Linked DNA regions of Homo sapiens: regions 1, 2 and 4 are each linked to region 3. The links are contacts of gene promoters, found by promoter capture Hi-C in blood cells and fetal thymus (Javierre and others, 2016). All regions are on one chromosome and are shown on one strand. The core of a region is centred on a gene start or on the middle of the fragment in contact, and the rest is flanking DNA. Distances in the headings are between cores, read along the strand shown.

Region 1 (5,661 bases), core at 1,620-4,119, 1.1 Mb after region 3:
AAATTCTTGAATCAAAGCACAAGATTCTACCCAAGGTACTTAACTTCCAGTTGGTTGCTTTCACCACAGTGAGGGAGCTCTACAAGCCGTGATTCATTTCAGCTCCTGTTGCCTGAGCCTATGTAACTTTATCAGAATTATTGTGAGTCACATCAACTCTCTGCCTAATTAACTTTTTCTGCTAAAGTGGTTTTAAGATAATGTACTTGCTTTTACTTAAATCATGGGAAATAGACCTTCTAGAGGTTAGAGCTTGATGCAAAATGATTGTCAACTCTTGCTATTTAATATTTTTCTGAAATCTTTTGGTAGTCATGGCCATACCAAAGTGGATTACTTTCCAGTCTTATTCAGGAACAAGATGTATTATTCTAACTTGTAATGGGGGACAGGGAAGTGTGGAAGAATAAGATTATGCGTCAGTGTCTAATCACATTAAAACATAATAACAGCTAATATTTATTGAACACTTACTATGCACCAGACCCTGTGCCGAACATTTATTTATTCAAACACTTATTTAGTTCTTACCCTAATTCTACAAGGACTTGTCCTCATTTTACAGATGAAGAAATTAAGGGACTTGCCTGAGGAGTTAAGTGGCACAGCTTCCACCCAGAACACTGGCCACAAAGCACATCTTCTTAACCAATATCTAGATCATGGATTCAGATGCTTTTTCTGTAAAGGGCCAGGCAGTAAATATTTTAGGCTTTGTGGAAATATCTTACAGCAGAAGGCAACTATAGACAACATGTAAAAGAATGGGCATGACTCTGTTCCAATAAAACTTTGCTTATGGGCAGTAAGATGTGAATTTCACATAATTTTTTTGTCATGAAATATTATTTTTCTTTTGATTTCCCATCATTTAAAAAGGTAAAAACCATTTTTAGCTTATAGGTACAAAACAGATGCTGGACCAGACTTGGCTGCAGGCCATAGATTGCCAAGCCCTGATCTAGATCATTGAAAATAGGACAAATTATGCGAGAATGAAATGATCACTGTAAGAGGACTCCCCATCCTATTCTAGATCCTTCTGGACGTTAGCCAGGGTCTAAGTCTCACGCTGGATGTTCCTTTTTAAAGAAATCACTTTCCACTGAATCCCCCCTTCAACCTCAGAGTCAGCCTGCTCTCCTGGGTTGCTCAGCGCCTCTCCTGGACCCCTACTTAGACTGCCCCTTCCTAGGCAGTTTTCCTTCCTGCCTCTTCCCCCAGCCTCCTATCTCCTTAGAGAACTGGTATAAGCTAAAGTGCTTTTTCAAAATCTCTATTATGTGTATTTGCATTTTAAAGGAGGTTTCTGGACAGGGCAATTCAAAGATAGAACTCTGGAGCATTTAGCCTGGGAAGATGGGTGTTGTGCATTTGGGGGGTGTGGAAGAAGGAACTTTTGCGCAGAGAGATTCTTATCACTCTTACAGTCATACTGAACAGAGCCTGGGAGGCTGGCCCTGACCAAGAGCCCCAGGGCCTCCAAGACCTTTGGACTAGGCTTGGCTGTAGGTAGGGAAAGGCTATTGCTATACTGTGGGAACCCCTAGGGGCTCTTTACCTAACAGCTGTGATTAATGAGTTGAATGGAGGAGGGGATGACTTCCTTCCTTGGCCCACTCAGAGTTCCCTGGAGGTGACAGCCACTCCAGGCACTCATCTCTGTGGCAGGCACCCCGTGGGAAGAGGTTGCATCAGCTCCAAGGTCTTTTCAGTTGTATCAGGTGGTCCTTAAGAACTGTATGTGGTTGAGACTCTGAACTCCCGGACACAGCAGAGAAGCAGAAAGTTGCCTTCTCAAAGGGGCACGTGTTCCCTGAGCTGTTTTATATCCCTGAGCTTTCCTGTGTCTTATGATTGTTTTCCCTCTGCCCCCTCCCCAAATATCCATTACGGACACTTAATCTTGTGTTAATTATGTATATGTTTCTGAGCCTACCAAATTCATCTGCATGTAGAAGTTTACTTTTATCCCATGTCATAGTTGTGGGGGCCAAGGCTCTTGGTCCTGTAAAGGTTTGCTGAAAATCACTGAGATGAGGCAGGTTGATTAATTGGAGAAAAGGCATATACGCTTATTTAACGTGCATTCACAGGAGCCTTCAGCATGAAGACTCAAAGATACAGGGGAAATTGTCCATTTTTATGCTTAGGTTCAACAAAATATGGACAGCCATATGGGAATATGATTGGAGGAAAAGCATAGATCTAAGTCTAATAGAATGAGTGGGGAAGCCCAGCAAGAGCTGCCTGTCTAGATTCTCCCTGGCCTCTCTGAGCGCACATTTCTTCCTTCTGGGTGTGGGGCAGGACCCTCTCTGGAATGGGGGTCTTATGACCTACTATCAAACAGGGTAGGTCAGATTATTTATTTATGGCCAGTTTTAATTTTTATTATTTATTTATTTGAAACAGAGCCTTGCTCTATTGCCCGGCCTGGAGTGCAGTGGTACGATCTCAGCTCACTGCAACCTCCGCCTCCCGGGTTGAAGCAATTCTTCTGCCTCAACCTCTTCAGTAGCTGGGACTACAGGCGTGAGGCACAACGCCTGGCTAATTTTTGTATTTTTAGTAGAGATGGGGTTTCACCATGTTGGCCAGGCTGGTCTTGAACTCCTGACCTCAAGTGATCCTCCCGCCTTGGCCTCCCAAAGTGCTGGGATCACAGGCATGAGCCACCGTGCCCAGCCCATATGGCCAGTTTTTATACAGATAGGGTGGAGGGAAAGTTAAACTAATATTTTTAGGTTTTATGGCTGGCTTTGGAAAAGGCTTCTGGTTTCTATGGCTAGCCTCCGAGGAGAATGGGACTGAGAGACAGGAGGGCAAGAGAAGGTCAGAGAAAATCATTTGCTTCTGAGGCTGCTGCTGAGGGCTTCATTTTGGGGTGTTGTTTTCTGAGCCCCAGCACAGTCTTTCTGGGAAGGTGGGAGGGTACCTGACTCCTTTTATTGTAGATCCAGCTAAGACTCCATGGCTGTCCAGAGCTTTCTCTGTGGTTTTCTCATGGTAACTGCAAATGGTGAAAGGAGGATATTTGGCAGGACTGTGCTCAAGGAATAGCAAGATAGAAGAAATGCCTGACCACTGTCCTCCCAGAGGTAGAATATTCCCAGGGAAATGCCTTTCTTTGTCAAAGTCTCTTTTCTTTTCTTTTCTTTTCTTTCCCTCCTTTCCTTCCTTCCTTCCTTTCTTTCTTTCGCCAGCTAAGTATATGCATGTACTTTTGGACCTGGAGAACAATAGAATGTACTGTTGTATTTTTATTCTCTTTGATTTTTTAAATTCCAGAATTTTCCTTTTCCTTTTTTGGGGAAGAAAAAAAGTAAAATAAATAAACTGTGATGATTTGACATTTCCCTGTAGCTTCAGAAAGGAAATTTATATAATACATATCTGTCTTTGGCTGTTTTCTCCCTCCAAGGTCAAGTTTGGTTTTTAGATGTGGCTTATAATACTTTATATTGTTAGAGGGTTTGAAACTCATCAATATTTGAACAACATCCTGAATTGGATGGTATGTGGGTTGTGTTATATTTGGCCTCTGTGTCTGCCTCAGAGGTGGGGGTTTTAGGATGGATTGATTAACACAGAATGTTAAGCCTAATAATGAAATTGTGGATGGTTCTGAGCTTGGAGCTGTCTATTCAGACTTTCTGCCACTGAACAGTGTGGTGGCTCCATTCACCCCATGCTGCTTTTTCTAGACTCGTCTTCACTTACTACTCACAGATTCCAATTTCTATTCTTGCCTGAACAGAGGAAGGGAGCCTTGAATACACAGGCAGGATTAGGCACATGAGTGGATAACCCACTTACAGTAGCCCACTTCCAGACAGCCCAAATTCTAGAAGAGCATCTAAAGAGGGATGGGTATTATTTCAATTTATTTCCATTTAATTCTCTGCATCCTTGGTCTAAGCACAGCTGTGTCACTGTGGTGATGTCCCTTGCCTATTGGGGATGATGATGGGAGCTGGGATGGCATATGGTAATAACAGATACCATTTATTATTGAGCATCGACAGCAGAACTAAGAAGATGTATGTGGGTTATCTCTTTAGTCCTCACAGTAACTCTGCAAGGTGGCATTTTCTTCATGCGGCAGATGGGAAAACCGAGGCTAAGAAGGATTACTCAACTTGCCCCAAACCACACAGCTTGAGTAGCAGGGCTACTCCAGCTAACTCCAGCTGTCTGTGCGCTTTCAACTGTTACCCCGCTACACCTGATCCCGCGGGCACAGGGCATGCGCGGGCGGTGTGGGCGCGTCGGGTCCTTCTCCCTTTGTCTGCAGTGAGTGATCCGCGCGCCCCCTGCCTGAGCCATCCCGGCTTTGCTTTGTCTGTTGCATTGTTGGCGAGACCTCTACTGCCTGAGTAGTTTGTTCAGTGCACAGTAAAGAGCTCTTTAGTTTTATTGAAATTATGTTTATGTTAAAATTATGTTATCCAAAATCTTGGATTACAGAGCAGCAGAACTGTTTGCAAGGACTACTGTTTAGTGAGTTGTTACAGAAACACCTTGTAAAATAATGAGTTATGTGAGCTGGAAGAATCAAAGATGTGGAACTGGGCAATGTAAACAATTTATTCCTGCCAGTAACAGCTGTAAAATGATGATAGCGCAAGTCTCTTGACTTTATTCCCTTACTCTGATTTTTATTTTACAGTACATTCACTTCTAGATCTTGTTGCTAGTTTTTAAGAAAATTTTAATTTTTTTTTTGAGACAGGATCTTGCTCTGTTGCCCTGGCTGGAGTGCAATGGTGAGATCACAGATCACTGCAGCCTGGAACTCCCTGGCTCCAGCAAGCCTCCCACCATAGCCTCCCAAGTAACTAGGACTGCAGGTGTGTGTGCCACCATGCCCGGCTACTTTTTTTTTTAGTTGAGATGTGGGGGAGGTGGGGAGGGTCTGCCTATGTTGCCCAGGCTGGTCTTGAACTCCTGATCACGATGGATCCTCCCACCTCAGCCTCCTGGTGTTAGAACTATAGGTGTGAGCCACTGCTCCTGGCCATAGATCTTTTTTTTTTTTTTAATACCTCACTCAATTTTTTAGAATTTTTTTTTTGTATCAAACATAATGGATTTCACATTGTTTTAAAAAGTAATTGGGAAGGAATACTGTTTCAGAGGACAGCTTACAGAAATCTCTACTATATGACACAGTTTCTTGTTGGTAAACACCATTAAAAAAGTTCAGAAGATTCCATGAGAACTTATAAATTACCTATGGTCTATTTAGAATCCTAAACAAATACACAGTGATTTACAGTGAACTGAGAGAGAAAGATCTAGGAAGAAGAAATTTTAAATTTGCTTGGCTCTTTTCTTTCCTTTTCTGAGACAGAGTCTCACTCTGTCACCCAGGCTGGAATGCAGTGGTGCTATCTCAGTTCACTGCAACCTCTGCCTCCCAGGCTCAAGCAATCCTCATGCCACAGCCTCCCAAGTAGCTGGGATTACAGGCATGCACCACTACGCCCGGCTAATTTTCTTTGTATTTTTTGTAGAGACGAGGTTTTACCCTGTTGTCCAGGCTGGTCTCAAACTCTTGGGCTCCAGTGATCTGCCTGCCTCGGCCTCTCAAAGGGCTGGGATTACAGCACTGAGCCATCGTGCCCGGCCCCCGATTTTATTTTCAAAAATACATTT
Region 2 (6,173 bases), core at 2,784-5,283, 1.2 Mb after region 3:
TATTTGTAAATTAAGATACAAGTAATGCCAGTTGATGAATATTTTTTTCATGTAGGTGGAAAGTTTTGCACTTAATTTATTCTTACCTTCAGACTTCGAAGCAAGCACCTTTTGTGTGCAAACTGAAAGCCATATGATTTACATCTCTAACCCAGCTCCTTTACTTCCTCTAGCTTGGAAACAATGATCTCTTTTGAATATTTAGTTTAAAGCACTCTATTTGGAAAAGAATCTTTAGGAAAATATTTTCCCATTAGTAGGTCCGTTTCAGGAGAGTCCACAAACAAATAGGTCTAAGCTGCTTTCAGGAACAGTCTTTTACAATCTCCCGTTCAGTTAAACTAAACAAACACACTGACTAAAGACAAGCTCACTGGGCAGGATTTTGAGTTAGGCTTCAATCTACTGTAGATTCTCAGTCTCCTTGAGCTGTGATTCTTACACGTGTAGACTCCTCTCTGGAAGTTTGAGGGTGGCTGGTCAACGTGCTACATTCTTGACTTAGGCTGTCTGGGGCAGTAGTTCCCTTCTTTTGGCTAAGCTGCACAGATGATGGCCTCCCTTGGGGGTTCAGCTTTGACTCTTAACTCTCCGTGGAACCAGCTATGAGCTCAGTGAGAGGGTTTATGTGGGCCTGGGGAGATGTGGACAGGTCTCTTGCCTTAGGAGTGACATTAACATCAGATTGTCTTCTTCCTTTGATGGATGGCATCATCTCTAACATGACACCTACCCAAATTTTTAAAATTTCCTGACTTCTTGGTAGAAGAAGGCTAAAGAATAACCCTTTCTCTCCCACTAAGAAATAATCCTTTATGAAACACTATTCTACTGTCAACTATTGGATAAAGTTTATCCAATTTTCTTGTTTCTCTTTCTCTTCCTTCATATTTGATCTACTATGCTGGGCTTTACCTCAAGTTTATAAACCTTATTTGAATATCATGGATATCTCCTGGCTTAAAGCTTCATCACATAGTCGGTTTTTCCATCATGACTAGCCCCATCCTAGGTCATCTCCTTATCATAACTCAGGTGGGGCTCGGGACCCACCATGAATAACCAAGGCACTCCTATCTCTCAGAAAATTCTAAGGCTTTAGAAGATCCCAGGAGCCCAGGCAAAGACCAAATTCTTTATTACAGAATAGGAGGCTGGGTGCCATGGCTCACACCTGTAATCCCAGTACTTTGGGAGGGTGAGGCGGGCAGATCACTTGAGGTCAGGGGTTCGAGACCAGCCTGACCAACGTGGCAAAACCCTGTCTCTACTAAAAATATAATAATTAACTTGGCGTGGTGGAATGTGCCTGTAATCCCAGCTACTAGGGAGGTTGAGGCAGGAGAATCACTTGAACCTGGGAGGCAGAGGTTGCAGTGAGCTGAGACTGTACCACTGCACTCCAGCCTGGGTGACAGAGCAAGACCCTGTCTTAAAAAACAAAAACAAAAACAGAATAGGAGCCACATCTCCATATCTGATTCATCTTTTAATTATCTCCAGGGCTTAGTACGATGCTTTGTACATAATAGGCACTCACATTTATTAAAACAATGGGCAAAGGTGAGCTAGAGGAAAATAATGCTAGCAATTTATGTAGGATGGATCATAGAGACCAGTTAAGACTACTGTAATAGACTGATGTTATTTCATGGACTCTCTCAATATTTCATTGATGGTGAGACTGAGGAATTATAAACTTTTAAAAAGTTAAATTGTTCTATTGCTCCCCTTCTTCCCAACTATAAAGTCCTGCAGTAATTTTCCATATGTTAAGTTTATCCAAGAAAACCTTCTACTGGGAAGTTAAAGCGAGTCTCAACTGCAAAGAACTTTGGTCTTCTCATTTATTTAATTAATTAGAATGAATAGCATGTAATAATGTTGCAAAGAGAGGCCTCCTACTCAGTGTTGCCATTCCTAATATCCTATCTGGAGCTTTGAGAATACTTGTCATGAAGATCCATTCACAACATTTACACCCCATGATATTGAGGATTTGCTTCAAAATAATCCTGGGGAGCATGGGGGAAGTACAAATGAAACACAAATGGTCCTGAGTTAATAATTATTGAAACTGGTGGTGGGTGACAGATTTCTTTATACTTTTCCTGTAATTTTTATATCTATTTTTGTGGGATATATTTATACTGCATTCTTTATCCTTCGGTATATTTTTGGCAATTTTTCATGACAAAAAGTTTTTTTTTTTTTTTAATCTATGTCTCCAAAGCTGAAGACCTCACACAAAGTGTACAGGACTGGGGGCCATTCCACCTTAGGTAGCAGGTCTTAAAAAATGGTACTCCAGGCCAGGTGCGGTGGCTCACATCTGTAATCCCAGTACTTTGGGAGGCCGAAACGGGGAGATCACCTGAGGTCAGGAGTTCGAGACCAGCCTGGCCAACATGGTGAAACCCCGTCTCTACTAAAAATACAAAAAATTAGCCAGGCATGGTGGCAGGCACCTGTAATCCCAGCTACTCAGGAGGCCGAGGCAGGAGAATCGCTTAATCCTGGGAGGTGGGGGTTGCAGTGAGCCGAGATCGTGCCACTGCACTCCAGCCTGGGGGACGAGAGTGGAACTCTTTCTCAAAAAAAAAAAAAAAAAAAAAAAAGCCAAAAAAAAAAAAAAACCAAAAAAGGTACTCAACCCAACTGATGTGTGTCTGTAGCATCCAACATCCAAAGGTGGATGTAAGCGGCAATGTTTGGGTGCCAAATATTACTGCTGCCCTAAGACCACCTTCATCCCTCCTCCATGTGCTAAGCATCCGCTTCATTTGGTGAACCCTATGTAAGCCAGTCCTTTCAGTGGAAACAATGATATTTAAAGTACCTGTGAGTTCTGATAATTACTTCCAAATGCTGCGTTTAGAGTCAAGGAAGTAGAAAACTACATCAAACAAAACTGGCTTATTCTTTGGGAGACTATGGAATCAAAGATGGAATCAAAGTCAAAAATAACACTAATGCCAGATTGTTGCAGGACTGTGAGACCAAGCCACTCTAGATGATGTCTTGGCCAGATGGACAAACCTTATAAAACAACAGAAGACAAGTCAGGAGCACACAGAATGTGATTTTTCAGCATTAAAATCAAAACTGTAATCAATCAGAGTAGAGACAATTTCACATGGGCTAAGTGGGATATTTATGAACTGTATAGCTCAGCCCTAGCTGCAGAAGCTGCCCAAATGGCTAGCTGCAGGCAAGATGAAGGAAGGGCTCCGGAGGCACACAGAGGGCACGCTCCAAGAGACTTTTGGAGGTACTGCTCCTGCTGGTATACCCCCCAACTCTGGGAGTGCAGTGTAGTTCTCAGAGAAAATGAGGCTCATTTGGAGCATAAACTGAAAACATTTTTTGCACAAGCCCAGATGTGGGTGGCTGTTATGAAGTCTGTTTAACTAGAGGGATTACAAATAGCAAATTGCCAATAAAGAGTTGGCTTTTATGAGTTTGAAGGGAAACTTAGTGATTAGCCTCAACTCCAAGAAGTAAAGCATCTTAGATTAGAATACAGAAGCCCCTAAACAGAATTCTTAAAAAAAAATTTAAATCTAATATTTGGTACATATAAAATATATATATCTCTCACATATGCAAATCACAAAACATAATATACTGAACACTTACTAGCCTAAGTGTTATGTCCAATTTAAGAACAGGAACATTGCCAATTGCATCCACCTTTGGGCTGCCTTCTCACCCTCCTTCCCTCCACGTCCTACCAGCAACCACTAACCCGAATTTTCTATTTATCATTTTCTTGCTTTTTATCACTTTATAAATTTCTTAAAATTATATTGTTTGGCTGTGTTTGAGCTTTATAAAAATGGCATCGTTATATCTTAGTCTCCTGGGACTTGCTTTTTTCCATCTTCTTTTTTTTTTGCTCAACATTATGTTTCCAAGCTTCATCCATAGCTTTGTGAGGAGCTGTAGTTCATTCATTTTCAGTGCTGTATAATAATCCGTTGTGTGAAAAGACCCCAAATGCCACTGATTTACATCATCTCCATCTATTGATGTTGTCAGGCTTGTGAATTTTTGCCAACCTAGTGGGTATAAAATGATATCTCACTGAAGTCTTAAATTACATTTCCTTGTTTCTAATGAGGCTTAACATCTTTACCTAAGCTTATTTGCCATTTGCTTTTCTTTTTCTGTGCAATGCTTGTTTATGCCTTTTCCACTCTTTTTTTTCTATAGCGCTGTCTTTTTTCTTACTGATTTTGTGGAGTTCTTTTTTTTTTTTTTAAGTGAAAGCAAGTTTATTAAGAAAGTAAAGGAATAAAAAAATGGCTACTCCATAGGCAAAGCAGCTGGGATTCTTTATGTACTAAGCAGCATGGGTTTTTAAAATCCATTTATCAATCTGTTGATTTTTAACATGTTAGGTGCAGAGCATTTAGAACTGGAAGGACCATTTGAAATACATAGTTCATCTCTCTCATGTTACTGAGGAGGAAAACTGAAGTGCACGGAGGTAAAGTAACTCGCCCAGTATCACAATTTGTGTTTGTACCATTGCTGAGGTGAGCACCTGGGCCTTCTAACCCCAAATTAAATTATTCTCCTATGTGACAACCTCCTTTAATGGTTTTTTCTCATTTATATTTAAAATTTTTAAAGTACCCAAGTAATAATACACGTTCATGGTAGAAAAAGAAAAAAAATTAGCAAAATGAGGAAAATAAAAATCAGTTTTAATCCCACCTTCAGATGCAACTATTCTCTGTTTTGTATTTCCTTTCTAGATAATAACTATAACGGATCATTATTATGAAATGCTTACTCTGTGCTAGTTATTATGGAGTGCTTCTTACAAAATGCTAGGCATTTTGTAAACACTCTTCATGTGTGGATGCTTTAATCTTCTGCACAACCCTATGATGTAGATTATCACCATCAGTGATAGGCAGTGTGGCAGGCAGAATGACAGCCTCCCTGAAATGTCCACATACTAATCCCAGGAACCTGTGAATGCGTTATGTTACATGGCAAAGGAGAATTAAGATAGCAGACAAAATTAAGGTTGGTAATTGGCTGATCCTGAAATAGCAAGAATATCCTAGATTACCCAGGTAGGCCCAACGCAATCAGAAAGGAAGAGGGAGACACAAGAGGCGGCATGAGAGTGATGCGATGTGAGAATGATTCAACCAGCCTTTGCTGGCTTTGAAGGTGGAGGAGGAGGCCAGAGCCAAGGAATGCGGGAAACCTTTAGAAACTGAAAAACCAAAAAATGGATTTCTCCTTTTGGTACTCCAGAAAGGAATGCACCCCTGCTGACACCTTGACTTTAGCCCAACATGGTAGACAGAACAATGGCCCCAAAATATCCACATTCCAATCCCTGGAATGTGTGACTGTGTTACCTTACATGTCAAAAGGAAGTTTACAGATGTGATTAAGACTTTTGAGAAGGGGAGATTATCTTGGATTATCTAGGTGGGCCCAATGTAATCATAAGGATCTTTAAAAGAAGCAGGCAGGAGGATGAGAGTCAGAGAGAAGATGTGATGACAAAAGCAGGGAATGGAGTGCTGTGCTTTTAAGACAGAGGAAGGGGCCAAAAGCCAAGGAACACAAGAGGCCTCTAAAAGAGGTAAGGAAACAGAATCTTCCCTTGAGTCTCTGGAAGAGTATGGCCCTGTTGACACCTTGATTTTGGCCCAGCAAAACCTATTTTGGACTGACCACCAGAACCGTAAGATAATAAATGCATGTTATTTTAAGCCACTAAGTTTGTGGGAATTTCTTACAGCAGCAATAGGAAACTGGTACACCTAGTTTACAACTTGCTAGGGCCACAGAGTTGGCCAGTGGCAGAGACAGGATGTGGTTTCAAGCCATCTGGCTTCAGAGCCCATATCTGTTACCATTATGACATAAACATACATGGACACATAGAGATTTAAATAGTACATACATCTCAATGAATGCAAACCTTCCATAATATTTTGATAGTCATTCAGCACCACCATATTAAATAGTTGTAGTCCACTCAATAAATATACCACTCCCCATATTTTATATAATAAATCCCTTATTATTCAATACATACGTTGTTTCTAATGTTTCAATATTGTACTACTGGCAATGATAAACATCTTTCTAGTGCTATTAATTATTTCATTAGGAAAAACTCTTAAAATTAGAAACGC
Region 3 (5,933 bases), core at 23-2,522:
GGATTCCCGCTCCCAGCCTCCGATAGCGCCCGCGTCGCCGCCACAGCAGCGTTCAGGACCCAACGAGGGGCCCAGGGCCATGGGAGCCGCCAGAGTCCTGGCTTCCAGACGTGCCAGGGGCGCCTGCAACGCCGGGCCTCCAGCGGGGAGACTCCACTTGCCTCTCAGCTATATTTGTGATTTACTTGAGTCTTTCGGAGCCGTGGAAAATAACTACAGAGATACTAGGCACTGCCAAGGAATGCTTCCATTATCGCCCTCATTTTACTCCTGGAGGTCTAAGCAAGACCCCAGTAACCCGCCCCACGGATCCCCAGACCCCAGGCAGCCTCTGTGGCTGCAGGGAGCCTGGGCCCACTCGCTGGGTTCAAGGAGAACCCTCCGACTTGGGGCCCGGCTGGCTCGAGGAACCGGACCCTGTGATGAAGATTTTCCAGGCTGGATACGTAAGCAAATCAAATCGCAAACTAATGACACGAAAACCATATTCACACGAAAGAAAAATCGACTACGGTTATAAAAGTGTATGGAATTTGACCTCGCCTTGGAGAAACACTACACAAAAGCTATCTTTAATAGACGCCTGTCATTTAAGAGCGGCAGGGACACTGTCCCTCATGCGCTCGCAAAAACAGAGCCGTAATTGTAGCTGCTGCTGCTGCGGGCAGGATTTATTTCTCCAATTGGCTAAATGGCTTTCCCCCTTCCCCGAAGGTGATATCTGTATTTTCAAAATTCAGAGCTGCTGGCAGGACGGTCAGTACCGACCCCAACCTCGACACAAAAATAAGAGGGGCTGCAAAACGGGGGAAATAAAGTTGTTGTAAATAAAATGCAAGTCACCACCTCCCCCCAATCCTCTGCATCCTCGCCGGGCGCGCGATCGGCAGCTGACGGCCTAACAATTGGTACATCCTAATGGAACTGCGAGGGAAATGCAATAATTTTGCCATAATGGGCTGTAACCTCAATTCGACCCCGGCCCTTGCAGCCCCCGGTCGGAAGCTGGGCGATGAGCCCTGCCTCCAGCGGGTGGCGCTCGAGTCCGGCTGAACGGCGGCAACTGGCGGCGGGCACGCGCCCGGGGCGCGCGCGCCACCCCCCTCGCCTCCACCCAACTCCCCTATTAGTGCACGAGTTTACCTCTAGAGGTCATCAGGCAGGATTTACGACTGGACAACAAAAGCACGTGATTCGAAGTCGTACCCCATATTTGGGTGCCTACGTAGGAGGGAACCAAGTACATGTCCCAGTCATTTCCATAATTCATCATAAATTGTGCAAGGGTGCTATAGACGCACAAACGACCGCGAGCCACAAATCAAGCACACATATCAAAAAACAAATGAGCTCTTATTTTGTAAACTCATTTTGCGGTCGCTATCCAAATGGCCCGGACTACCAGTTGCATAATTATGGAGATCATAGTTCCGTGAGCGAGCAATTCAGGGACTCGGCGAGCATGCACTCCGGCAGGTACGGCTACGGCTACAATGGCATGGATCTCAGCGTCGGCCGCTCGGGCTCCGGCCACTTTGGCTCCGGAGAGCGCGCCCGCAGCTACGCTGCCAGCGCCAGCGCGGCGCCCGCCGAGCCCAGGTACAGCCAGCCGGCCACGTCCACGCACTCTCCTCAGCCCGATCCGCTGCCCTGCTCCGCCGTGGCCCCCTCGCCCGGCAGCGACAGCCACCACGGCGGGAAAAACTCCCTAAGCAACTCCAGCGGCGCCTCGGCCGACGCCGGCAGCACCCACATCAGCAGCAGAGAGGGGGTTGGCACGGCGTCCGGAGCCGAGGAGGACGCCCCTGCCAGCAGCGAGCAGGCGAGTGCGCAGAGCGAGCCGAGCCCGGCGCCGCCCGCCCAACCCCAGATCTACCCCTGGATGCGCAAGCTGCACATAAGTCATGGTAAAGCCAGCCTTTTTCTAAATCCACGCGACCGCGGGGACGCGGCTCTCGGTCCCCCCTCTCTTCTCTGCCGCCCTCTCCCAGTCTCTCTTGGTCTCATTTCTCCCAGCCCTGCGGAGCTCTCCTTGCCGTTCTCCCTCCCCTGCCTTCCTCCTTCCTCCTCTTCTTTGCGAGCACCCTGCGCTCACAAATAGTGGGGGAAATGGGCGTTCTCTGGGACAGTTTAGACGTTGGAAGGGGGAGGAAGCAAAAAACCCCTCTGGAACCCCACGCCTTGGGACGCGCTCCCGGGTCAGGCCAGCCGAGCAAGGCGCAGAGAGGTAGAGGATGGCTGTAGCAGCCGTGAATCGGGCTTGTCACGGCGGATAATTTATGAGGAGGGCTACGCTGGGGAAACAGCGTTACTAATTACAGCCCCCGAAAAGGGGCTTGGGGGAAAGAATCGAGGCGAGAGCCTGCAGGATTCTGAATTTTGGGGGCAGGAGGGAGAGAGAAGGAAAGGGAAGAAAAAGAAAACAGGCTCCCCAACCCTGCAGGCTGGAAACGGGAGGCGGCTCTCGGGGCTGGAACTTTGAGGGAGGGTGACCCGAAGGCCACTTGGGCGCTCAGGAAAGGGCCTTGCTTCCTGGGTTTCTGTGCGGTGGGCAGCCTGGGAGGGCTGTGCCTCCCGATCGGGGCGCCCGGGGCAGGGCGGAGGGGGCAGGAGAGGGGCCAGGGAAAGCCGGAGTCCGCCGGGACACGGCCCCAGCCTCAGATGGGCAGATTGTTCCCAGGGTCCAAATCGTATTGTTTTCTTTCTAGAAAGGAAGAGAGAAGGAAATTCGGGAGGGGTGTGCGGGCTGGTAGGCAGAACTTGTTGAGCTTTTCGCCTGGGTTCCCTGCTCATGACCCAAGCTTGTCCCCCTGGCGGACTTTGGAAGACAGGAGTTGGTGGCTAAACCGCTGACTTTTCTATTGCAGACAACATAGGCGGCCCGGAAGGCAAAAGGGCCCGGACGGCCTACACGCGCTACCAGACCCTGGAGCTGGAGAAGGAGTTCCACTTCAACCGTTACCTGACCCGCAGAAGGAGGATTGAAATAGCACATGCTCTTTGCCTCTCCGAGAGACAAATTAAAATCTGGTTCCAAAACCGGAGAATGAAGTGGAAAAAAGATAATAAGCTGAAAAGCATGAGCATGGCCGCGGCAGGAGGGGCCTTCCGTCCCTGAGTATCTGAGCGTTTAAAGTACTGAGCAGTATTAGCGGATCCCGCGTAGTGTCAGTACTAAGGTGACTTTCTGAAACTCCCTTGTGTTCCTTCTGTGAAGAAGCCCTGTTCTCGTTGCCCTAATTCATCTTTTAATCATGAGCCTGTTTATTGCCATTATAGCGCCTGTATAAGTAGATCTGCTTTCTGTTCATCTCTTTGTCCTGAATGGCTTTGTCTTGAAAAAAAATAGATGTTTTAACTTATTTATATGAAGCAAGCTGTGTTACTTGAAGTAACTATAACAAAAAAAGAAAAGAGAAAAAAAAACACACAAAAAGTCCCCCTTCAATCTCGTTTAGTGCCAATGTTGTGTGTTGCACTCAAGTTGTTTAACTGTGCATGTGCGTGGAAGTGTTCCTGTCTCAATAGCTCCAAGCTGTTAAAGATATTTTTATTCAAACTACCTATATTCCTTGTGTAATTAATGCTGTTGTAGAGGTGACTTGATGAGACACAACTTGTTCGACGTGTAGTGACTAGTGACTCTGTGATGAAAACTGTGACTCCAAGCGGTGTGTCCCTGCGTGCCTTTATAGGACCCTTTGCACGAACTCTGGAAGTGGCTCTTATAAGCGCAGCTTCAGTGATGTATGTTTTTGTGAACAAAGTTACAAATATTGTCCAAGTCTGGCTGTTTTAAGCAAACTGTGATCAGCTTTTTTTTTTTTTTTTTTTTTTTTGTATTTGTTTTTAAGGAAAAAATACTGACTGGAACAAAAAATAAACTTTCTATTGTAAGTTCTCTTGGTCTGGTTTGTGCCAAATAGTGAGCGGCTCTGTCTGCTTTTCTGTCTGTCTGTGCAGTCTTGGAAGCTGTTGGGTCTGAGGCTACCTGAGCAGATGACCTGTGCAGGGAGACCTCATACCAACACTGTCCCATCGCTTCCCTACCTCTGACCCATTGCAAAGTTCAGGGCAGAAGGTGGAAAAAGCTGTAGGCTGTTCCAAAGCCCCAGAACACCCTGTCCATCTCTGAGGAAACCAAGTTAACTTGCTGGGTACAAAAAAGAGAGAAAGAGCAAGAAAAAAGGAGAAAAAACCCAGGGCTTTGTTAGCCGCCCTCAGGCCACACAGATCCTGCCTCTTTCCTAAGGCTGTCCTAGGCCTCCACTTGCTGAAGACGCTGCTATGTCTGTCTGTGGACCCCAAACCCTCTGCCCTTAACCCATCCCAGCACCCCTTCCCCACTCTTCACCCGGGACCCAGTTGGCTTCTTTTGCTACAATTAATTTGCTACAAATTGAAGGTACTTACCCCATCCTAGCTCGATTGGGAAACTCCTCAGAGCAGCTAAAGCGCAACTAGAGATTTGCACATTTACCGACTGCTTACACTGATGCCGTCTTTCCTTTTAAAAGTTATAAAACAGTAAACTTTATAAGCCCCAGTTCCGGCTATATGACATTTGGGTGCCAAATGAATAGGGTTTTGTCTATGAATTAGATCGTAAAATCATCCATAGCACAGACAGATCGGCTCACTGGCTATAAAACGTCACGTGGGGCCATTAAAGTAAGTTTTATGGTTTTGGGGAGTTGACATCCAACATTATATACCACATAACATATAATCTCACTAACGCTGGACTCCATTTGACTCTTTTGCAGGCTACGTGTGCCGCCTGGCCATTCAAACTGTCAATTTTAGGTCCAGAAGTGTCCAAACCACAAGTTCTCAAAACTCTCTGAAAAATGGCTCCCTCCGAGTTAAGGTAAGCTCGCCTCCTGAGCGCTTTCAAGTTTATTTGTACTTTGGAAACTTTCTCTCTCTCTCTCTCTCTCTCTCTCTCTCTGGTTCAATAACTCAGGCTGCCTCTGAATTCGAAAAGGCAGAGCAAACTTTCCCTCTGCCCAAAAGAGCAGCGCCAGGAGCCAACTCTGCGGAGGCAGCAGAGTGAGCAGCGCCTGTGGCCGCGCCGCATCCCCAGGCCTAACTTTAATTGCAGCACAACCGCGGATGTTAATGACTTCCGCTGCTCCCGCCGGCGTGCAAAAAGATGATTTTTGTGTGCGAATGGGCCTGTGTGTGGGGACCTGGCAGGGCCGCACCCCCAGTCCCCCGCGCAATTGCTGGGCCGGCCGGGGCCAGCTCCTGGGGGTCGCGGAGCCCTGGGGTCGGGGCTGGGAGACAGTGGGGCGCCGGCCGCGGGCGCCGAGGGCCGCGCTGCGCTCAGGAGTTTGAAAGAAAGGCCGGGGCAGGGCCGAGGCGGACTCTGGCGGGATTCCTTACGGGGCTGTGGCAATATGTCTTCGCGGGCCGGGGTCATTTGGCAGGGCTGAATTGAGGCGGCGGCCTTCGGGGCCGGGTTTCAGGCTAGCTCGCGAGAGCGGGAGGGTGGCAGAGGCCGGCGAGGCTGGGGCTGCACCTCCAGGCTGGGCCCCCGGGTTGCAAGGTGGATCCTGGGCTGCTAGCGCCCACTGGACCCTGAGGACCAAGGATCCCCACCCTGGTGTGGGGGGGTGTTCAGGACCCCCTCCCCCGCACCCGGGACCAGGCCCTGAACCCTGTTTGCCTGCATGTTCTTTTTATTTCGGCGGGACTGTTCTCAGCCGCTTGTGAGTCTGAAGCAATAAACTTTATGGCCGGATTTAACTTTAGTCTTTGAATCCCCAGGCTAATTGAAAGGGGTTAAAGCGCTTTCTTTTCTTCCGCTTTGCCTTTCTTCTCCCTCTCTTCTTTCCTGTTCCTCTCCTTCTTTGTAGAATTAAAAACATCTACGCACAGGACCCTCAGAAGGCAACTTAGGCGGCCCCCTGGATAACATTAAGATTGGA
Region 4 (6,090 bases), core at 338-2,837, 1.3 Mb after region 3:
AGATTTATGCAAAATTCCAGTGCAATATTAGTAAGATCCAAAAAAGTCAGAACTTCGTTCCTTTTTAAGACTGAGTAATGTTTCACTGGGATAGTATTCCATTGTATGAACGTGCCAGGTTTTGCTTATCCATTCATCTGTTGATCTATGTCCACTTGGATTGTTTTCACGTTTTGGGTATTGTGAATAGTGCTGCTGTGGACATGGTGTACAGAACAAGTCTCATATTGAAGGGTTCCAGTTCACCTCTGCAGTCTTAAAGACTTGACACTCAACTGGGCAGAGGTACAGTATCTGGCGAGTAAAAGAAGGCAATTGGCAAATGGTTACACTTCTGGCTTGAAATGTTATAGGGTTAGTTTCTTTCCCCTTTTTTTCAGGGCAGATCTTTTCCTGGAATCAAGTTTGACTCCTAAAACCACCTTGGTGTGGTGGTGGAGCCCCAGGCGGATAAGAGCAGAAAGCCATTTGAATCCTGCTGCTTTACTTATTAATGGAGCCATTTGCTGTTGCGGAATTGAAAGTATTACAACTGAGTGACAGTTGTTTAATATTCTGATTACATGAACTTTGTGTGTTATGGTTTTGCCATTTGACATATTAGATTTCATAATGCAATTGAATTTGTGTGCTGGAACCATGTTTATTAACAGAGACTGACATGGTTCTCCTAAGAATTTACGTTAAGCTGACTGCAGTGATGTGGGAAGTCTATGGTGATAGTTGGGGGAGGCTGGAGCCCGTATGGACTAGAATCTTTTCTGTTTAAGTTTCACAAGAAAACTTCTTGGAGATGAAATCCATGTTTTCACTCATTTTGACATATTTTACAATGATGGATGTGAGATGGGGGAAGACTGGCTCAAAAATAGGAGATTGCTGAGGTCAAAAGTCAAAGGAATTGCTGTTTTTAAAGAGATTGTCCAAGGGGGAGCCACAGAAAAGCACTCAAACTGTCTGATTTTATTATTGTTTTCTCTCATAATGCCTTCCTGGCTGTGGGTATAAATCCATACTAGTTAACAAAAGTTTTGGTCGTATACAGCATTTTTTCAGGAGAATAAGATCTGCTCATTCCAAGATAGGTAACTGGGTCTAGAGCTATTTTTCAGTATAGTTATGGCCTAAAAACGTGGCAACATGATTTTTGCCTCGGCCCTCAGCTTACATTTGAATCAAACAAGGCCTCACCCATGAGGCTTTAATAATTATTAACTTAGTGAAATTGGGCAGGTCCTGGTCTTTAAAGTAGTTTAAATTGATTCTAAACAGATTTATGTAAAATTCCAGTGTAATATTAGTAAGATCCAAATAAATAAAAACTTCATTTCGTATTCTGGGAAATTATGGTTTTAAACTAGCAGAGAGAGTCTGTATGGTTAAAAATTATACAGCAAACAGACGGGCTATACCCATATCCAGGTTTTAATTTTTAAAATTATTATATATTAATTTTTTAAACTTACGAATATAATTAATTATGAAGGTAATATTACAGCAAATATATAAAATAAAATACTGCTTACCCATAATCTAACATCCTAAAGCAGCTTCTAATGTGTTTTGGCACAATTATTTATAGTCTTTTTCCTCATTGTAACTATTTAGCTATTTTTCTTTACATATTTATAATAATAATTTAAGGACAGTGTTTTATCTTGTTCTTCTCATTTAATATTGCATTAATATATTCCCCATGTTTCTACATTGTCTTCATAGCCATAATTTTAAGTGGCTTAATGAAAGGGAAGTGTGTAATGTAGAGCTTTCTGCCTATTTCCAGTTTTAAACTAAACCAGACTATAAGCATATGCAGATTTATCGTTCAAGATTTCAGGTATTCTCAGGCAATCCAGAGGTCCATGGAATGTGGTAATTAGTAATTTTACTGAAGCATTGGGGGAATGTGAGTCGCAAGACTGGAACTCAGGAGCTCACCAGCTAGAACACCAACTGCTTACTCAGTATAAAGATATTAACATAGTTTGCCTATTCTCAATTTGTCCCACAAGCATTTTACAGGGGGAAATTATTGTATTAGTTAATTTTTGCTGCATAACAAACCATCCACATTTTAGAGGCCTAAAACCACAAACATTTATTATTTAGTGCGTTATTCTGTGGCTGGCTGAGATGGCTGGGAGAGTTCTGGCCCGGGCAGACTCGGCTGGAGCTAGATGGTCTAGCATGGACTCAATCACATAGTTGGGTTGGCAGGCTGTTGGCCAGTGCCTTGGCTTTTCAGTATGTTTCCTCTCTAGCATCATAGCCCTATCTTGGGCTTATTTGCCTTAAGGTCTCATGGTTTCAGGTGCAGAAAGAGAAAACAAGATTTATGTGCAAGCGTTTTTCAAGCCTTTTTTGCTTGCATCATATTTGCTAATATTCTGCAGGCCAAAGCAAGTCATATGGCCAAACCCAGATCAAAGGATGAAAAAAGAGACTCTATTTCTTGATGGGTGGGGCAGAAATATCACAGGGCAGAGGGGCATGCAGACAGGAATGGAAAGAATTATTGGAACCATTTTTGCAAATAAACCAACACAATTTCATATATAGATGTACAGTCAAATTTGGGAATCTTTAAAAGTCCCTGGCAGATTCCTCCACAAACCCAAGGCCCACACAACTTGTAATTCATGGGAAGGGGGAGCTTCCAGTTATGGGCAAGTATTGTAAATAATACTTTAATGTACTTCTTTGTGTATATAGTTTTTAAAATATTTTGAGTTATTTGGTCAGGATAGAGTCCCAGAAGAATTCTTGGGGTAATGAAAACGAGTATTTTTATGTCTTTTAATATTTGCTTTCCAAAAAGTTGTGTTGAATCATGTCCTGTCAGCAATGTATGTTTGATTACCTATTTCACTATACTTCAGTGTTAAACTGAATGTTAACATTAAGAAAATTTTATAGTGAAAAGTTAAAAAATGGTATCTAATTTCTAGGGGTGTGGATTCTGCCATAAGAGAATTCTGCAGACTGGGTGGCTTAAACAATAGAAATTGATTGTCTGCTAGTTCGGGAGGCTTGAAGTCCGAGATTGAGGTGTAGACAGGTTTAATTTCTTCTGAGACCTCACTCCTCGGCTTGCAGATGGCGGCTTTTCTCTGTGTGCATGAAGCCCTAGTGTCTCTTCCTCTTTTTATAAGGATAACAGTCATATTGGATGAGGGTTCCACCCTTATGACCTCATTTAACTTCAGTTAACTCTTTGAAGGCCCTATTTTTCCAAATACAGTTACATTGGTAGTTAAGTCTTCAACATAGGAATTTTTGGGGAACACAATTCAGTCCCTAACAGGGTGGATCTAAAAGCTGTATGTGGCCTGAAGCTTATACAATTTTGGGGCCTTCTTTAAAAAGAATGTAAAATCACGCATACAAAATTGCTAGGTCCCCTGCCTAGGGTTTGGGAAGGGGCCTGTGCAAGCGAAGGGCCCCGAGACTTAAGGTTCATGGCTTACAATGAGCCCACCTCTGCTCATTGTTGTTTTTGTGCTTTACTTAACAGAGGGCATGATTGCTACTTGCTTGTATTTGCCAGATATAGAGTTAAGGCTATTGGTTTGATTATAGAGCAACAGGAGAGCAGTGTTATCATTTAGGGTGGAAGGGTCTCAGGTTTAAAGCTTTGAGTTTAAACAGACACTTAGGGTTTTTAGGAGGCCTTTCTTGTTCTAGTGGAGCAGAAAAGCACTTGCGTGGTATGTTTTTGTGACAATAAAGTCATGAAAGAGTGTGTCTTATTGTCGAAAGTGCCATCTCTCCCATCTGAGCACCGACGGCTAAAACATGATCAAGAGGGGACACATCTTCATTCTTTAGTTAGATACAGGGCTTAGAATTGAGGTACCCTTGGGAGAAGGAACACACCAACTTAAATTTGCATTAAGTTATACATGCCTGACGCTAGATTTTCTGGGAGCAGATTTTCATATGGGGAAGCAAGATGGTATTAAGTACGTAAACACGTGTGTTTGAAGAGAAGGTACTGAAAAATGGAGATTGAAGTGCAAATGACAAGCTTCACTTTAAAAAAATTTAGATAGGGCAGTGCTGCTTTCAGAGGACTTGGTTGATGTGTCTTAGTAGAGACCTTGTTCGCGTGGGGAGTCTGTTGTTTCAGAAATGTGTTTCTGCTGCTATTTCTGCTTCCAAGAATGTCAGATAAAGGGGCCTGAACACAACTGGGGACATGTGGGAAGGGGGAGCCTCTAGTCATGGGCAGGGGTGGGGCTGTGATGTAACAGGCATTGGCTTAGACCAATGGGAATGCAGAAACAGATGGATGGGGCAGAGATCCTTGGGTATAATGACTAATTAAGCATGATCTTTAAGTAGAGGTTGCAGGAAGTTTGGGGAGTTGATTGGTAGGACTGAGTAGAAAGCAGAAGTAACACAGGAGGTGGAGGTAAAGAGAAGAGAAATTAAGAAGGAAAATCTCATCAAATGACATATTTAAAGATAAATTAATTAAATACAGAAAAGGTAAATATAATTTTGTTTTCTTCTGGCTAAGTAATATAGATACTTCACATAGCTATGGAGATGATTATTCAAAATCACCGTGAACCTCTTGGCTTCTGGAAGATAGCCAATGTGATTCCCAGAGCTTAGAGGGGCCTGTCTTAACCACCAAACTGAGTTTCCACTGACACCGATACGAAACATGTAGAAAAATATTAGCATTTCCTATTCAAACAAATACGATATAGTCTGGGGACATAAGGTTATCTAATTTTCTTCCAAAAAGATAACATTTAAGAAAGCACATAGTTTAAACAGGAAAAACACTTTGCACAATGTGACCCACTGATCCAAGCCCGGGTAGTTCTCATTGCCCGGGGAGAACAAGCAGAGCATTGTTTCAGCGATGAAAAGAAAAACATCCTCTGATTTTCCAAGTTTGTTCTGAACCAAATTTTTGGTTGAAATAGAAAGATGTATTTTTTTTCCTTTTCTTGCCACCCTTCTTTATTTTTTAACCCATTTTTTAATGAAGCTATCTAAGTGGATGTTGAAACAGTGAATGTTAAGAAAGAGTACATTTCCTATGTAAACAAACACAACCCGGCTTAGAGAGAGAGGAAAGCAGTCTTGTCAACCCGAAAGGAACCCAGCACATGGTAATTTTTGTAATTGAAGTATCCCAGGGATTCCAGGGTACATGAACAATCCATAAAACAGGAATGAGACCACACAAAAACACAACCATGGCTCCAGGCGGGCACTGTTGAAAAGAAGCAGACTTTTAGCAGTAGGAAGCAGGGAGCTTGCATCAGAGGATCTTTGTAAATGCCCCTCTAAAATTAAAGTCCTCTCTAAGCTCCTTCCAGGTAAAAATGTTGTTTACTGGGGCTGAAGGCTGTGAAACACGAGCAATATAGAGAGGAAGACAAAAAGACTGGTGAGGTCATGACCTTGAGCCTTTTTGTTTTCTTTCTCAAGGTCTTTTACATGCATCGTTGGATTGCAGTCTCAAGCCTGGGATTCCAACGGAATTAACGTCCATTGAAAACTTACTGTGCTCAAGGCACAGAACGGGGTAGTTTTATACACATTCTCCCATTTGGATTTTTCAAAGACAACATCTAATCATCCCCAGAGAAATTTCAGCTGAGAAGACAGGATGGTGAGACAGTTCCTAAGTCTTTCCTAGACACAATTGTCTTTGCAAGTCCTCTGCCACAGTCAAAGGTGCTTTCTTGCCTACCTACTGGTAAAATCCTTGACTGTCCGATTTCTCTAAATAACTATAATTGGAGCAATCAGATCATTAAAAAAAAACAGCAGGAGAGATGTTAATGTTCTAAAATACAGTTTCCATTCTAATTGCAGATGAAGTGCCCTGGGGGCCAGAGTCCAGACAAGTATTTTGGCACCTCCAAGGACTCGCAGAACACAGAGAGGAAAAGAGAGACCCTGTTATCTTTCCGCAGGGGTGGCCGTTCAAACTCTCAGAGATGGAAGTTAAGATTTCCTTTGGTATAAGTGGCAGTTTGACTGGCTGCAAGGAGAGCCTCAGTTTGTTTAATTTGGAGTAAAATTTTATGAGTTAATCTCTAGTGAGGGAAAGCAGCAGTAAAC

The links. Contacts are between HindIII fragments. The CHiCAGO score rates a contact against its expected background, and 5 or more counts as called.
Region 1: a contact is called between a fragment that was not itself captured here and the fragment with the promoter of HOXA5 in region 3, in 1 of 17 cell types (monocytes). The highest score is 5.4, in monocytes.
Region 2: a contact is called between a fragment that was not itself captured here and the fragment with the promoter of HOXA5 in region 3, in 1 of 17 cell types (activated CD4 T cells). The highest score is 6.0, in activated CD4 T cells.
Region 4: a contact is called between a fragment that was not itself captured here and the fragment with the promoter of HOXA5 in region 3, in 1 of 17 cell types (total CD4 T cells). The highest score is 6.4, in total CD4 T cells.

Annotation. Positions count from the first base shown.
Region 1 is chr7:26,077,731-26,083,391 of GRCh38, reverse strand. The region is part of intron 1 of LOC105375199 (a long non-coding RNA gene); the gene reads left to right. Among named protein-coding and RNA genes, the nearest start is that of NFE2L3, 72 kb to the left of the region's middle. RefSeq lists an enhancer at 4,176-4,245. The HindIII fragment of the contact is 6,266 bases long and covers 1-5,661 here.
Region 2 is chr7:25,953,730-25,959,902 of GRCh38, reverse strand. The region is part of intron 6 of LOC105375199 (a long non-coding RNA gene); the gene reads left to right. Among named protein-coding and RNA genes, the nearest start is that of MIR148A, 6.8 kb to the right of the region's middle. The HindIII fragment of the contact is 225 bases long and covers 3,921-4,145 here.
Region 3 is chr7:27,139,020-27,144,952 of GRCh38, reverse strand. HOXA5 (homeobox A5) reads left to right here and starts at 1,272. Exons shown (of 2, transcript NM_019102.4): 1 at 1,272-1,907; 2 at 2,868-3,901. The coding sequence starts at 1,346. The coding sequence ends at 3,118. HOXA3 (homeobox A3) reads left to right here. Exons shown (of 6, transcript NM_153631.3): 2 at 4,767-4,870. It overlaps HOXA-AS3 (HOXA cluster antisense RNA 3), which reads right to left and starts at 4,589. Exons shown (of 3, transcript NR_038832.1): 1 at 4,414-4,589. RefSeq lists an enhancer at 4,865-5,443. The HindIII fragment of the contact is 13,335 bases long and covers 1-2,803 here.
Region 4 is chr7:25,831,311-25,837,400 of GRCh38, reverse strand. It overlaps LOC100506236 (a long non-coding RNA gene), which reads left to right and starts at 4,317. Exons shown (of 3, transcript XR_108752.5): 1 at 4,317-4,491; 2 at 5,452-5,635; 3 at 5,842-6,090. The HindIII fragment of the contact is 3,501 bases long and covers 1-3,337 here.